Linked DNA regions of Homo sapiens: region 2 is linked to region 1. The links are contacts of gene promoters, found by promoter capture Hi-C in human tissues and cell types (Jung and others, 2019). All regions are on one chromosome and are shown on one strand. Each heading gives the region's core, a stretch centred on a gene start or on the middle of the fragment in contact. The rest is flanking DNA. Distances are from core to core; before and after follow the strand shown. Region 1 holds the start of NLRP12 (NLR family pyrin domain containing 12). Region 2 holds the start of VSTM1 (V-set and transmembrane domain containing 1).

Region 1 (5,993 bases), core at 2,067-4,566:
TGAGCTTATGCCTGAGTATAAATCATATTTTTTCTTTTTTTTTTTTTTTTTTTTTTGAGACAGAGTCTTACTCTGTCACCCAGGCTGGAGTGCAGTGGCTTAATCTTCGCTCACTGCAACCTCCACCGCCTGGGTTCAAGTGATTCTCCTGTCTCAGCCTCTAGATTAGCAGGGATTACTGGCGCCCGCCACCACACCCGGCTAATTTTTTTGTATTTTTAGTAGAGACAGGGTTTCACCATGTTGGCCAGGCTGGTCTCGAACTCCTGACCTCAGGTGATCCATCCACCTCAATCTCCCAAAGTGCTGGGATTACAGGCGTGAGCCACCGCACCCAGCTCATTGTGATTATTTTATGAGATAGAAGATATAATAAAAGAAATCATGTTGGCTGGGCACGGTGGCTCACACCTGTAATCACAGCACTTTGGGAGGCCGAGACGGCTGGATCATGAGGTCAGGAGATCGAGACCATCCTGGCTAACATAGGGAAACCCCGTCTCTATTAAAAATACAAAAAATTAGCCAGGCATGGTGGCGGGCACCTGCAGTCCCAGCTACTCGGGAGGCTGAGGCAGGAGAATGGCGTGAACCCAGGAGGTAGAGCTTGCAGTGAGCTGAGATTGCGCCACTGCACTCCAGCCTGGGCGACAGAGCAAGACTCTGTTTCAACAACAACAACAAAAAGAAATCCAAGAGTGCTAAGGAGGCACAGAAGTGGGGTTTCTGAGCCAGCCAGAGTGGTGGGAGCGAGGAATCAGAAGGAGTGGGGGAAGAGGAGTAAATACTTTACTTTAGAGAAGGTAGTGGCTTCAAGGTTTCAGTAAGTAATACTTTTCCAGGCAAAGAAGATGGAGAATATTCCAGGCAGAACACAGCATGAACAAAGACCAAAGGGATGAAATTAGAATTCTGTACACAGTCATAAAAAAGAACAAAATCATGTTCTTTGCAGTAACATGGACGCAGCTGGAGGCCATTATCCAAAGCAAACTAATGCAGGAATAGAAAACCAAAGACTGCATGTTCTCACTTATAAGTGGAAGCTAAACATTGGGTTCTCATGGACAGAAAGATGGGAAGAAGAGACACTGGGGACTCGTGGCGGGGAGAAATCTCACCATTGGGTACTATTACTATGTTCAAGTACCTGCATGATAGGATCAATCTTACTCTGAATCTCAGCATCACTCAATATACCCATGTAACAAACCTGCACATGTACCCCTTGAATCTAAAAGTTGAAATTTTTATATAGATATAGATGTGTGTGTACGTAAATTAGAATTCCAGATCTCCCAGGCTCAGGGATTAGTATGAAAGAAAAGGGAATTGGTGGCCAGGCAGTGGTCATTCATGCCTGTAATCCCAGCACTTTGGGAGGCTAAGGTGGAAGCTCGCTTGAGCCCAGGAGTTCAAGACCAGCCCGGGCAACATAAGGACACCTCATCTTGGCCGGGCACAGTGGCTTATGCCCGTAATCCCAGCACTTTGGGAGGCTGAGGTGGGTGGATCACGAGGTCAGAAGTTCAAGACCAGCCTGGCCAAGATAGTGAAACCCCGTCTCTACAAAAAATACAAATACAAAAAATTAGCCAGGCATGGTGGCAGGTACCTGTAATCTCAGCTACTCGGGATGCTGAGGCAGAAAATTGCTTGAACCTGGGAGACGGAGGTTGCAGTGAGCGGAGATTGCGCCACTGCACTCCAGCCTGGGCAACAGAGCGAGACTCAGTCTTAAAAAAAAAAAAAAAAAAGGATACCTCATCTCTTTCTTAATTTATTTTTGAGATGGGGTTTCACTCTGTTACCCAGCCTGGAGTACAGTGGTGCAATCTCAACTCACTGCAATCTCCACCTCTCAGGTTCAAGCGATTCTCCTGCCTCAGCCTCCCATGTAGCTGGGACTATAAGCGTGTGCCACCACGCCTGGCTAATTTTTGTATTTTTAGTAGAGACAGGGTTTTGCTATGTTGGCCAGACTGATCTCGAATTCCTGACCTCAGGTGACCCACCCGCCTTGGCCTCCCAAAGTGCTGGGATTATAGGTGTGAGCCACTGCACCTGGCTACCTCATCTCTTAAAATATATATACACACACACATATACACACACATATATATACACATATATACACATATATATACGTGTGTGTATATATATATAAATTCCAGATCTCCCAGGCTCAGGGATTTTATATATATGTATTTTAAATATTTATTTTAATAATATATGTATTAAATATTTAATATATAATATTTATTATTTATATATATTTATATAATATACCATATTTATATAATATAGTATATTTATATAATAAATATATACTATATTTATATATAATATATACCATATTTAATATATATTTAATAATATAATTATATACATATTTTAAATATATATTTAAAATATATGTTTTAAATATATATATTTAAAATATATGTTTTAAATATATATTTTAAATATATATTTAAAATATATATTTTAAAATATATTTATTTAAAATATATATTTAAAACATATATTTTAAATATATATATTTTAAAAAAATATATTTTAAATATTTGAGGCAAGGTCTCGTTCTGTCACCTAGGCTGGGGTGCAGTGGCAGGATCATAGCTCACCGCAGCCTCGACCTTCTGGTCTCAAGTGATCCTCCCACCTCAGCCTCCTGAGAAGCTGGGATCACAGACGTATACCACCACACCTGGCTAATTTTTTTTATTTTTGGTAGAGACAGAGCCTCACTATGTTGTCCAGACTGGTCTTGAACTCCTCACCTCAAGTGATCTGCCCTCTTCAGCCTCCCAAAGTGCTGAGATTACAGGTATGAGTCACTGGACCCGGCTGGCATTCTAGCCTTGCCTGTCCCGCCACCTCCTTACCCCTCACCAGGTCCTCTCTCTGTCCTCTCTCCCACAGGTCCTTCCTGTTTATCCGCTCAAAGGTGCTGAGAGCCAACCTCCAGGCCTCCTCTGGCCCGAAGTGGGTGATGAGCAGCTGGGCCATTTCCAGGGGACCGGCCTTCTCCATGCTTCCCCAGGGGATCTTGCCTTCTCCCAGCTCTGTCGCGGTCCCCAGGTATAACTTGAACTTCTTCAGTTCCACAGCCTCGAGTTCTTCCAAGTAGGTGGACAGGCGACAGAGGCCGTCCCTGCCTGCGGTTCGTAGCATGGGGGTGCCGTGAGCCCCAAAGGAGAGGACCTGGAGGCTGAGATGCTCCTATGCACGGGACACAGGGCGACCCCAGCACACCTTCCATTGCATCATTCACAGGCAGCGGGCGGAGAGGCTGAGCCAGTGGTTGGAGGAGAGAGCAAGGGAGGAAAGACCTTTTGCTGAAATAATGCTTTCTCACTCTTCAGTTCCCTCCTGCCCTGCCCCACTCACCAATGGCTGTTCTGGGTGGAGAAGAGGAAGTTCGGGGGGAGATTAAGAAATCCGAGGAGCCACTTGGCTGATGAAAAAGATTTTCACTTCTGCTGTCTCTTCCTGGATCTCTTGACAAAACAGTCACTCTCTTTCCGCTTTCCTCTTGTTTTCCTCATTTCACTAGTGTGTGTGGTAGAGTGTATTATCAAAACTGCGACTGCGCCTCTTCCAGGGAGAATTTTTTTTTTTTTGAGACAGAGTCTTACTCTGTGGCCCTGGCTCTGCGATCTTGGCTCACCGCAACCTCTGCCTCCCAGGTTCAAGCGATTCTCCCACCTCAGCTTCCCTTGAGTAGCTGGGATTACAGGCGCCGGACACCACACCCAGCTAATTTTTGTGGTTTTAGAAGAGACAGGGTTTCACCATGTTGGTCAGGCTGGTCTCGAACTCCTGACCTCAGGTGATCCACCCGCCTCAGCCTTCCAAAGTGCTAGGATTACAGGTGTGAGCCACCGTCCCTGGCTTTTTTTTTTTTTTTTTTCTTTGAGTCAGAGTCTCACTCTGCCACCCAGGCTAGAGTTCACTGGCGTGATCTCAGCTCACTGCAACCTCCGCCTCCCAGGTTCCAGCGATTCTCCCACCTCAGCCTCTCAAGTAGCTGGGACCACAGACATGCGCCACCATGCCCAGCTAAGTTTTTGTAGTTTTGGTAGAGACAAGGTCTTCTTATGTTGCCCAGGCTGGCCTTGAACTCCTGAGCTCAAACGATCCGCCCACCTCAGCCTTCCAAAGTGCTGGGATTACAGGCATGAGCCACTGAGCCCAGCCTCAGGGAGAATTATTAAGGACCTCACGTAGGTCTGCTATTTTTTTTCTGTTCTCTCAGTCACAAGAGTGGCATGAGAGGGACTTTGCGGTAGGCAGGATGATGGTCCCCAAAGATATTCATGTCCTAATGGCCAGAACCTGTGACATTTCACCCTACATAGCAAAAGAGACTTAGCATATGTGACCAAATGAAGGCACTTCAGATGGGGACATTATCCTGGTTATCTGGGCAGGACCCATGGAATCACAAGAGTCTTTTTTTTGAGACAGAGTCTTGCTCTGTTGCCCAGGCTGGAGTGCAGTGGCACGAACTCGGATCACTGCAAGCTCCGCCTCCCAGGTTCACACCATTCTCCTGCCTCAGCCTTCCGTATAGCTGGGACTACAGGTGCCCGCCAACACGCCTGGCTAATTCTCTTTTTTTTGTATTTTTAGTAGAGATGGGGTTTCACCATGTTAGCCAGGATGGTCTTGATCTCCTGACTTCGTGATCCACCTGCCTCAGCCTCCCAAAGTGCTGGGATTACAGGCGTGAGCCACCGCACCCAGCCACAAGAGTCTTTATAAGAAGAAGACAGGAGGGTTAGTGTAAGAGGAAGATGTGACTGGGTGCAATGGCTCATGCCTGTAATCCTAGCACTTGGGGAGGCCAAGGCAGGTAGATCACCTGAGGCCAGGAGTTTCACACCAGACTGGTCAACACAGTGAGGCCCCATCTCTACAAAATATGTGTTAGCAGAATTTATGAATTCTGATGGAAGAGCAAGTTTATAATTCCCTCTGTCTCCTGCATCATGCCAACTTTGTTTCATGCTCCTAATCAATTAAGACCCCTCAGACACACACACACACACACACACACACACACACACACACACACACACACAAAAGCCTTCATAGCCAGGCGCAGTGGCTCACACCTGTAATCCCAGCACTTTGGGAGACTGAGGCGGGCAGATCACCTGAGGTCAGGAGTTTGAGACCAGCCTGGCCAACATGGTGAAACCCCGTCTCTACTAAAAATACAAAAATTAGCCGGGCTTGGTGGCACGCACCTGTAATCCCAGCTACTTGGGAGGCTGAGGCAGGAGAATCACTTGAACCCGGGAAGCAGAGGTTGCAGTGAGCCGAGACTGCGCCACTGCACTCCAGCCTGGGCAACAGAGCGAGACTCTGTCTCAAAAAAAGAAAAAAAAAATTAGCTGGGGTTTGGTGGCGGGTGCCTGTAGTCCCAGCTACTCAGGAGGCTGGGGCAGGAAAATCACTTGAACTCAGGAGGCGGAGGTTGCAATGAGCCAAGATCCCGCCATTGCACTCCAGCCTGGGTGACAGAGTAAGACTCCGTCTCAAAACAAAACAAAAAAAACCTTCACAGCTTTTTATGAGACATTCTCCCACATCCAGTCCCTTCCAGGACTAATATTCTGTTGCATGGCATGCAGCAGTTTTGAGCAGGGGAGGGATGGAGTCAGGTCTGGGTTAAGGAAGATTCCTCAAGGCCCTTGTGGAAGGCAGACCAAACAGAGGAGGCCTGGATTGGGAGAGCGAGAAGCTGAAGCCTTCATGTTTCAGGAGATGGAGATAATGCCTGAGTAAGGGCAGGCGGTGGGTGCATCCTGGGAGTGTGGGGATGGCAGTGATCATTAGAGGGGAGGAGAAAGGTTTGGCAAACCTGAACTACCTACAGACCCCATCTGAGCTTCCTCAAGTGGCTCACGACGCAGGCTCCTTCCACGCCACTGCTGCAGGTGGTGGTAAAACTAATTTCTAGGAATTCGGAAGCGAGGCTT
Region 2 (5,993 bases), core at 1-2,500, 240 kb after region 1:
CCAGGAGGTGGAGGTTGCAGTGAGCTGAGATCACACCACTGCACTCCAGCCTGGGAGACAAAGCAAGACTCTGTCAAAAAAAAAAAAAAATGCTCATCTAAGGTGCAAATGTGTGTAGGAGACGAGCATTACCCCACAAGGAAGGGCTGCACCCAGAAAAGGAGGAAGGAACTGAAGCAGACGAAGCACGTCGATGTCCACCGCACCCCCCGTGCACCAGGGAGGAACTGGGGCCTTAGGGAGGTGGAGCTCTGCTGGGTCAAGCCTAGAGTTTCTATGTAGTAAAGCCGAGATTATAACCCAGGTCATCCGTTTCACAGTGTGAGCTCTGTCTGAATACATCAGGTTCAATTGGAGGATGGTTAAAATCAGCCTAAGAATCGAGCTGGTCAGAAAATTGTCTTCTTGGGGCCAGGTGTGGTGGCTCACGCCTGTAATCCCAGCACTTTGGGAGGCTGAGGCGGGCGGATCACCTGAGGTCAGGGGCTCGAGACCAGCCTGACCAACATGGTGAAACCCCGTCTCTACTTAAAATACAAAAGTCAGCCGGGTGTGGTGGCCTGCACCTGTAGTCCCACCTACTCGGGAGGCTGAGGCAGGAGAATCGCTTGAACCTGGGAGACGGAGGTTGCAGTGAGCCCAGATCACGCCATTGCACTCCAGCCTGGGCTACAGAGTGAGACTCTGTCTCATAAATAAATGCATACATACATAAATAAATAAATAAGAGAGAGAGAGAAGAAAATTGTCTTTTTGCCCACAGCCTTGCACCCTGTAGATCCCTAAGCCCAGCCCTCCTCTATTCCGACGGAGGATGATGGCAGTACTGCGGTATTTAGCGGCTGCAGACTCGGAGACCCCACAGCAGCTCTGCCTTTCCCAGCGGAGTCTGTCCCCGTGTCTCTGCAGCGCGGCCTCCTCCTCGCTTGCATGTGGGCGGCAGAACTCACAGAACCCACAGCCCAGACCCACCCACCGCAGGTGTGCAACACCTGGAAGTCATTACTTCCACACACCGCATTTCCACCTGGACTGCCACTCCCACATGAGTTTTTCTCACCAGCCCAAGCCCATTCGTCCCAGTCCTGGAGACTCACCGAGGCAAAGCAGGGAGAGGAATTCTGCGGTCATAGCGTCCCTTCTGCCAGAACCAAGGCCCCGCCTTGGGTTTTACCCTTCAAAGGCGGAGCGGGACTGGGCCGGCCGCAGCTCTCCGGCTGCCCGGTTCGTCCCCAGGATGTGCAGATAGAGGAGGTTTTGCTCTGACACTCTGGTTCTCTGCCCCACTCTTGCAGTTTCCTTCTCACAACCGACTCAGGAAACAAGAAGCCGTCGATGATAACTTCTTCCCCATGAATCCGGTGTGTGTGGCCCCACCCGCCCGAGCTCTGTCCTACCTTATCTGAAGTTCTGCCAAGAGTTTTCTGTAAATGTAATTTTTTATTTTAAAACACTAATACCGGCCGGACGCGGTGGCTCACGCCTGTAATCCCAGCACCTTGAGAGGCTGAGGCGGGCGGATCACCTGAGGTCGGGAGTTCAAGACCAGCCTGACCAAAATGGAGAAACCCCCGTCTCTACTAAAAATACAAAATTAGCCAGGCATGGTGGCGCATGCCTGTAATCCCAGCTACTCCGGAGGCTGAGACAGGAGAATGGCTTGAACCCAGGAGGCGGAGGTTGCTGTGAGCCAAGATTGTGCCACTGCACTCCAGCCTGGACAACAACGGTGAAACTGTCTCAAACAAGCAAACAAACAAACATTAATACCTATAGCTTTATAGCTTCCGTGTACCCACTAGCCAGCTCCCCACAATGTTAACCTTTTTTTGGGGGGCGGGGGGGACAGAGTCTTGCTCTGTCACCCAGGCTGGAGTGCAGTGGCGCGATCTCGGCTCACTGCAACCTCTGCCTCATGGGTTTAAGGATTCTCCTGCCTCAGACTCCCAAGTAGCTGGGATTACAAGCATGCACCACCACACCCAGCTAATTTTTTGTAGAGATGGGATTTCACCATGTGGGCCAGGCTGGTCTTGAACTCCTGGTCTCTAGTGACCCGCCCACCTCAGCCTCCCAAAGTGCTGGGATTACAGGCATAAGCCACTGTGCCCGGCCAATGGTAATCTCTTATAATTACAGTACTTTTTTTTTTTTTTTTTTTTTTTGAGACAGAATCTCTGTCAGCCAGGCTGGAGTGCAGTGGCACAATCTTGGCTCACTGCAACCTCTGCCTCCCGGGTTCAAGCGATTCTCCTGCCTCAGCCTCCCGAGTTGCCGGGATGACAGGTGTCCGCCACCACTCTTGGCTAATTTTTTTTGTTCTTTTTAGTAGAAACGAGGTTTTGCCATGTTGCCCAGGCTGGTCTCGAACTTCTGACCTCAGGCGATCCGCCTGCCTCGGCCTCCCAAACTGCTGGGATTACAGGCGTGAGCCACCACGCCCGGCGTATGGCACATTTTCAAAACCAGAGACTTTGCACTGGCATCACACGTTTAACCAGGTTCCAGAGGTCACTCAGATCTCACCAGTTTGTGCATAATTCGTTTCTCTTTTTCTCTTCCTCTTCCTTCTATTTCTATTTCCTTTTCTCCTTTTCCTTCTTTTCTCCTGCTCTTCCTCCTCTTCCACCTTCTTTTCCTCCTCCCTTTTCTTTGCCTATGGGTATAGTTCTGTAACATTTTATTGCCTGTATGTATGGCTTTATAGAACCACCGCCACAATCAAGACACAGAACTGTCCCACCACCACGTAGGAACTCCCTCATGCTGCCCCTTTATAATCGCTCTCCCACCCTAGCACCTGCTAATCTGTTCTACGTCTCTATCACTTTGTCACTTTGAGACTCTTGTATAAATGGAATCGTCCATCGCCTCACCTTCTGAGGGTGACCTTTTTCACTCAGCACAATGCCTGTGAGATTCATTCAAATGGTTGTGTGTTATGATGATGGATACATTAGCCGGGCGTGGTGGCACACGCCCATAGTCCCAGCTACTCAGGAGGCTGAGGCAGGAGAATCGCTTGAACCCGGGAGGCGGAGGTTGCAGTGAGCTGAGATCACGCCACTGCACTCCAGCCTGGGTCACAGAGCAAGACTCCATCAAAAAAAAAGAATTATCTAATGGATACAATGTGTGTCACTGGGTTAGTGGATACCTGAAAGCCCTAACTTCATCATTTTGGAATCTATCCATGCAATAAAGTTACACTTGTACCCCATAAACGTATACAAATAAAAAATAATCGTCTGGGCATGATGACTTACCGCTGTAATCCCAGCACTTTGGGAGGCTGAGGCGGGATTACAGGTGTGAGCCACCATGCCCGGCCTATACTTTCTATCTTAATAACTACAAAAATAATAACTTGCTGGATGGGTCCCTGTGCCCACCCCGTCCTGTCCTAAGTGAGGAGGATGGGAAGAAAGCCATCGTCCTGTCCTGGTGCGGCTCTCAAACAGCTGGAAATGCTGGCTGCACAGGAAACTCTAAGGATCGGCAGCTCTAGCGCATGCTACCCTTGGCAGCTGTGTGGTCTGTGGATAGAGAAGGACCAACCTGTGGTTAGTGGAGGAAGAGGAGGAATATTGCTTTGATAAGCACATCCTCAGAGTTATAACAGAGGAGACAATAGTTATAAAATAAGAATGATATTTACGAAAAATAATAAGACTATTAACAAGAAACAGCAACAAATCTTGAAAACAAAATGTAACAACAAAACATAAATGTTGACTTTTTTTTTTTTTTTTTTTTTGAGACGGAGTCTCGCTCTGTCGCCCAGGCTGCAGTGCAGTGGTGAGATCTCGGCTCACTGCAACCTCTGCCTCCCGGGTTCCAGCAATTCTCCTGCCTCAGCCTCCTGAGTAGCTGGGATTACAGGCATGCACCACCACGCCCAGCTAATTTTTGTATTTTTAGTAGAGATGGGGTTTCACCATATTGGCCAGGATGGTCTCGATCTCTTGACCTTGTGATCCGCCCACCTCGGCCTCCCAGAGTGCTGGGATTATAGGCATGAGCCACAGCACCTGGCAACTGTTGACATTTTACATCTGCACCAGTAAGACTGGCTACCAATTACAAGCAAATGGATGCCATGGATAGAATGGAATTCCTGCCAAACTGGGTAAAATGTTGGAAACATATAAAATAAAATGTAAAAGAAATGTATTATAAATACAGGCTGGGCGTGGTGGCTCATGCCTGTAATCCCAGCACTTTGGGAAGCCAAGGTGGGCAGATCACTTGAGGTCAGGAGTTCGAGACCAGCCTCGCCAACATGGTGAAACCCCGTCTCTACTAACACACAAAAATTAGCCAGGCATGGTGGTGGGCGCCTGTAATCCCAGCTACTTGAGAGGCTGAGGCAGGAGAGTCACTTGAACCTGAGAGGGAGGTTGCAGTGAGCTGAAATTACGCCACTGCACTCCAGCCTGGGTGACAGAGTGAGACTCCCTCTCCAAAAAAAAAGAAAGAAAGAATGTATTATAAATACATATGACCAAGCACAGTGGCTAACGCCTGTAGTCCTGGCACTTTGGGAGGCCAAGATGAGAGGATCACTTGAGTCCAAGAGTTCGAGACCAAGTTGGGCCATATGGTGGAACCCGGCTTCTACAAAAAATACAAAATTTAGTCCGGCATGATGGCACACACCTGTGGTCCCAGCTACTCAGAAGGCTGAGATGGGAGGATTACTTTAGCCTGGGAGGTCGAGGCTGCAGTGAGCCGTGATCTAGCCACTACACTCCAGCCTGGGCGACAGAGTGAGACCCTGTCTCAAAATAAATAAATATAATAAATAAATAAATATGTATATCCCAATATTGGACTAAATGCTGGTCCAGAAGCACAAAATAGAAAGAACGGAGAGGAAGTATTAATAAATATTACACAGGAAGCAATGTTTTTCCCTTCGTGTGGAGGAAGAGTTCCCCGCAGGTGAGAGTCACCTACTACTCAATCTGACTCTGAAGTTTTAAGTATTGATTCAAGTTATCAAAAATGTATTAAGGGCTGGGCACGGTGACTCAAGCCTGCAATCCCAGCACTTTGGGAGGCCGAGGTGGGCTGATCACTTGAGCTCAGGTGTTCAAGACCAGCCTGGCCAACATGGGTGAAACCCCATCTCTACTAAAAGTACAAAAATTAGCTGGGCATGGTGGCAGGCGCCTGTAATCCCAGCGACTTGGGAGGCTAAGGCAGGAGAATCGCTTAAACCCAGGAGGTGGAGGTTGCAGTGAGCCGAGATCTTGCCATTGCACTGCAGCCTGGGTGACAGAGCGAGACTCCGTCTCAAAGAAAAAAAAAAAAAGTATTACGTGGCTCATTGTGCCCAATTCTGTCCTCTGTCCCCAGTGAAAAGTACAGGAAGAAGAAAGCCACCATCCTGCCCTACAGCAGATCCCAACAGAGCTGAGAGTGCAGGTTCCACAGAAAGCGGTTAAGGCTCAGCTGGTCCAACCCATCATTCCCTGGGCAGCTGTGGGATCTATGGCTAGAGAAGAACAGAGCTGAGCTTAGAGGGGAAGGAAGAGGAGGAAGATTGTTTTCTCCCGGCATCCAAACACAGCTTTTCAACCAGGGGGAGCACCACCCTCACTTCCCATCGCCCCATCCAGGGATATTTGAAAGGTATGAGAGTAGTGGCTTTTTTGTTGTTGTTGTTTCACAATAATTAGGTCTCCAACAGGTGTTCAATGGGAAAGGAAGTATTAGCAATGTCGAGTTACGTGTTCCTATAATGGACAAGACAGTCTCACATGGTGAAGGACTATTGCACTTTAAACACCATTTGTGGCCATGCCCGGTGGTGCACACCTGTAATCCCAGCACTTTGGGAGGCTGAGGCAGGTGGATCACTTGAGGCCAGGAGTTCGAGACCAGCCTGACCAATGTGGCGAAACCCCGTCTCTCCTAAAAATACAAAAAAATTAGCCAGATGGTGGCAGGTGCCTGTAGTTGCAGCCACTTGGGAGGCTGAGGCAGGA

What was found. The method cuts DNA at HindIII sites, captures the fragments that hold promoters and counts their contacts. A contact is called where the count stands out against the background at its distance.
Region 2: a contact is called between the fragment with the promoter of VSTM1 here and the fragment with the promoter of NLRP12 in region 1, in 7 of the 25 tissues and cell types used here (H1 embryonic stem cells, dorsolateral prefrontal cortex, liver and 4 more).

What each region holds. Positions count from the first base shown.
Region 1 is chr19:53,820,998-53,826,990 of GRCh38, forward strand. It overlaps NLRP12 (NLR family pyrin domain containing 12), which reads right to left and starts at 3,317. Exons shown (of 10, transcript NM_144687.4): 1 at 2,889-3,317. The coding sequence starts at 3,177. The HindIII fragment of the contact is 28,124 bases long and covers 1-5,993 here.
Region 2 is chr19:54,062,647-54,068,639 of GRCh38, forward strand. VSTM1 (V-set and transmembrane domain containing 1) reads right to left here and starts at 1,251. Exons shown (of 9, transcript NM_198481.4): 1 at 1,098-1,251. The coding sequence starts at 1,131. The HindIII fragment of the contact is 40,052 bases long and covers 1-5,993 here.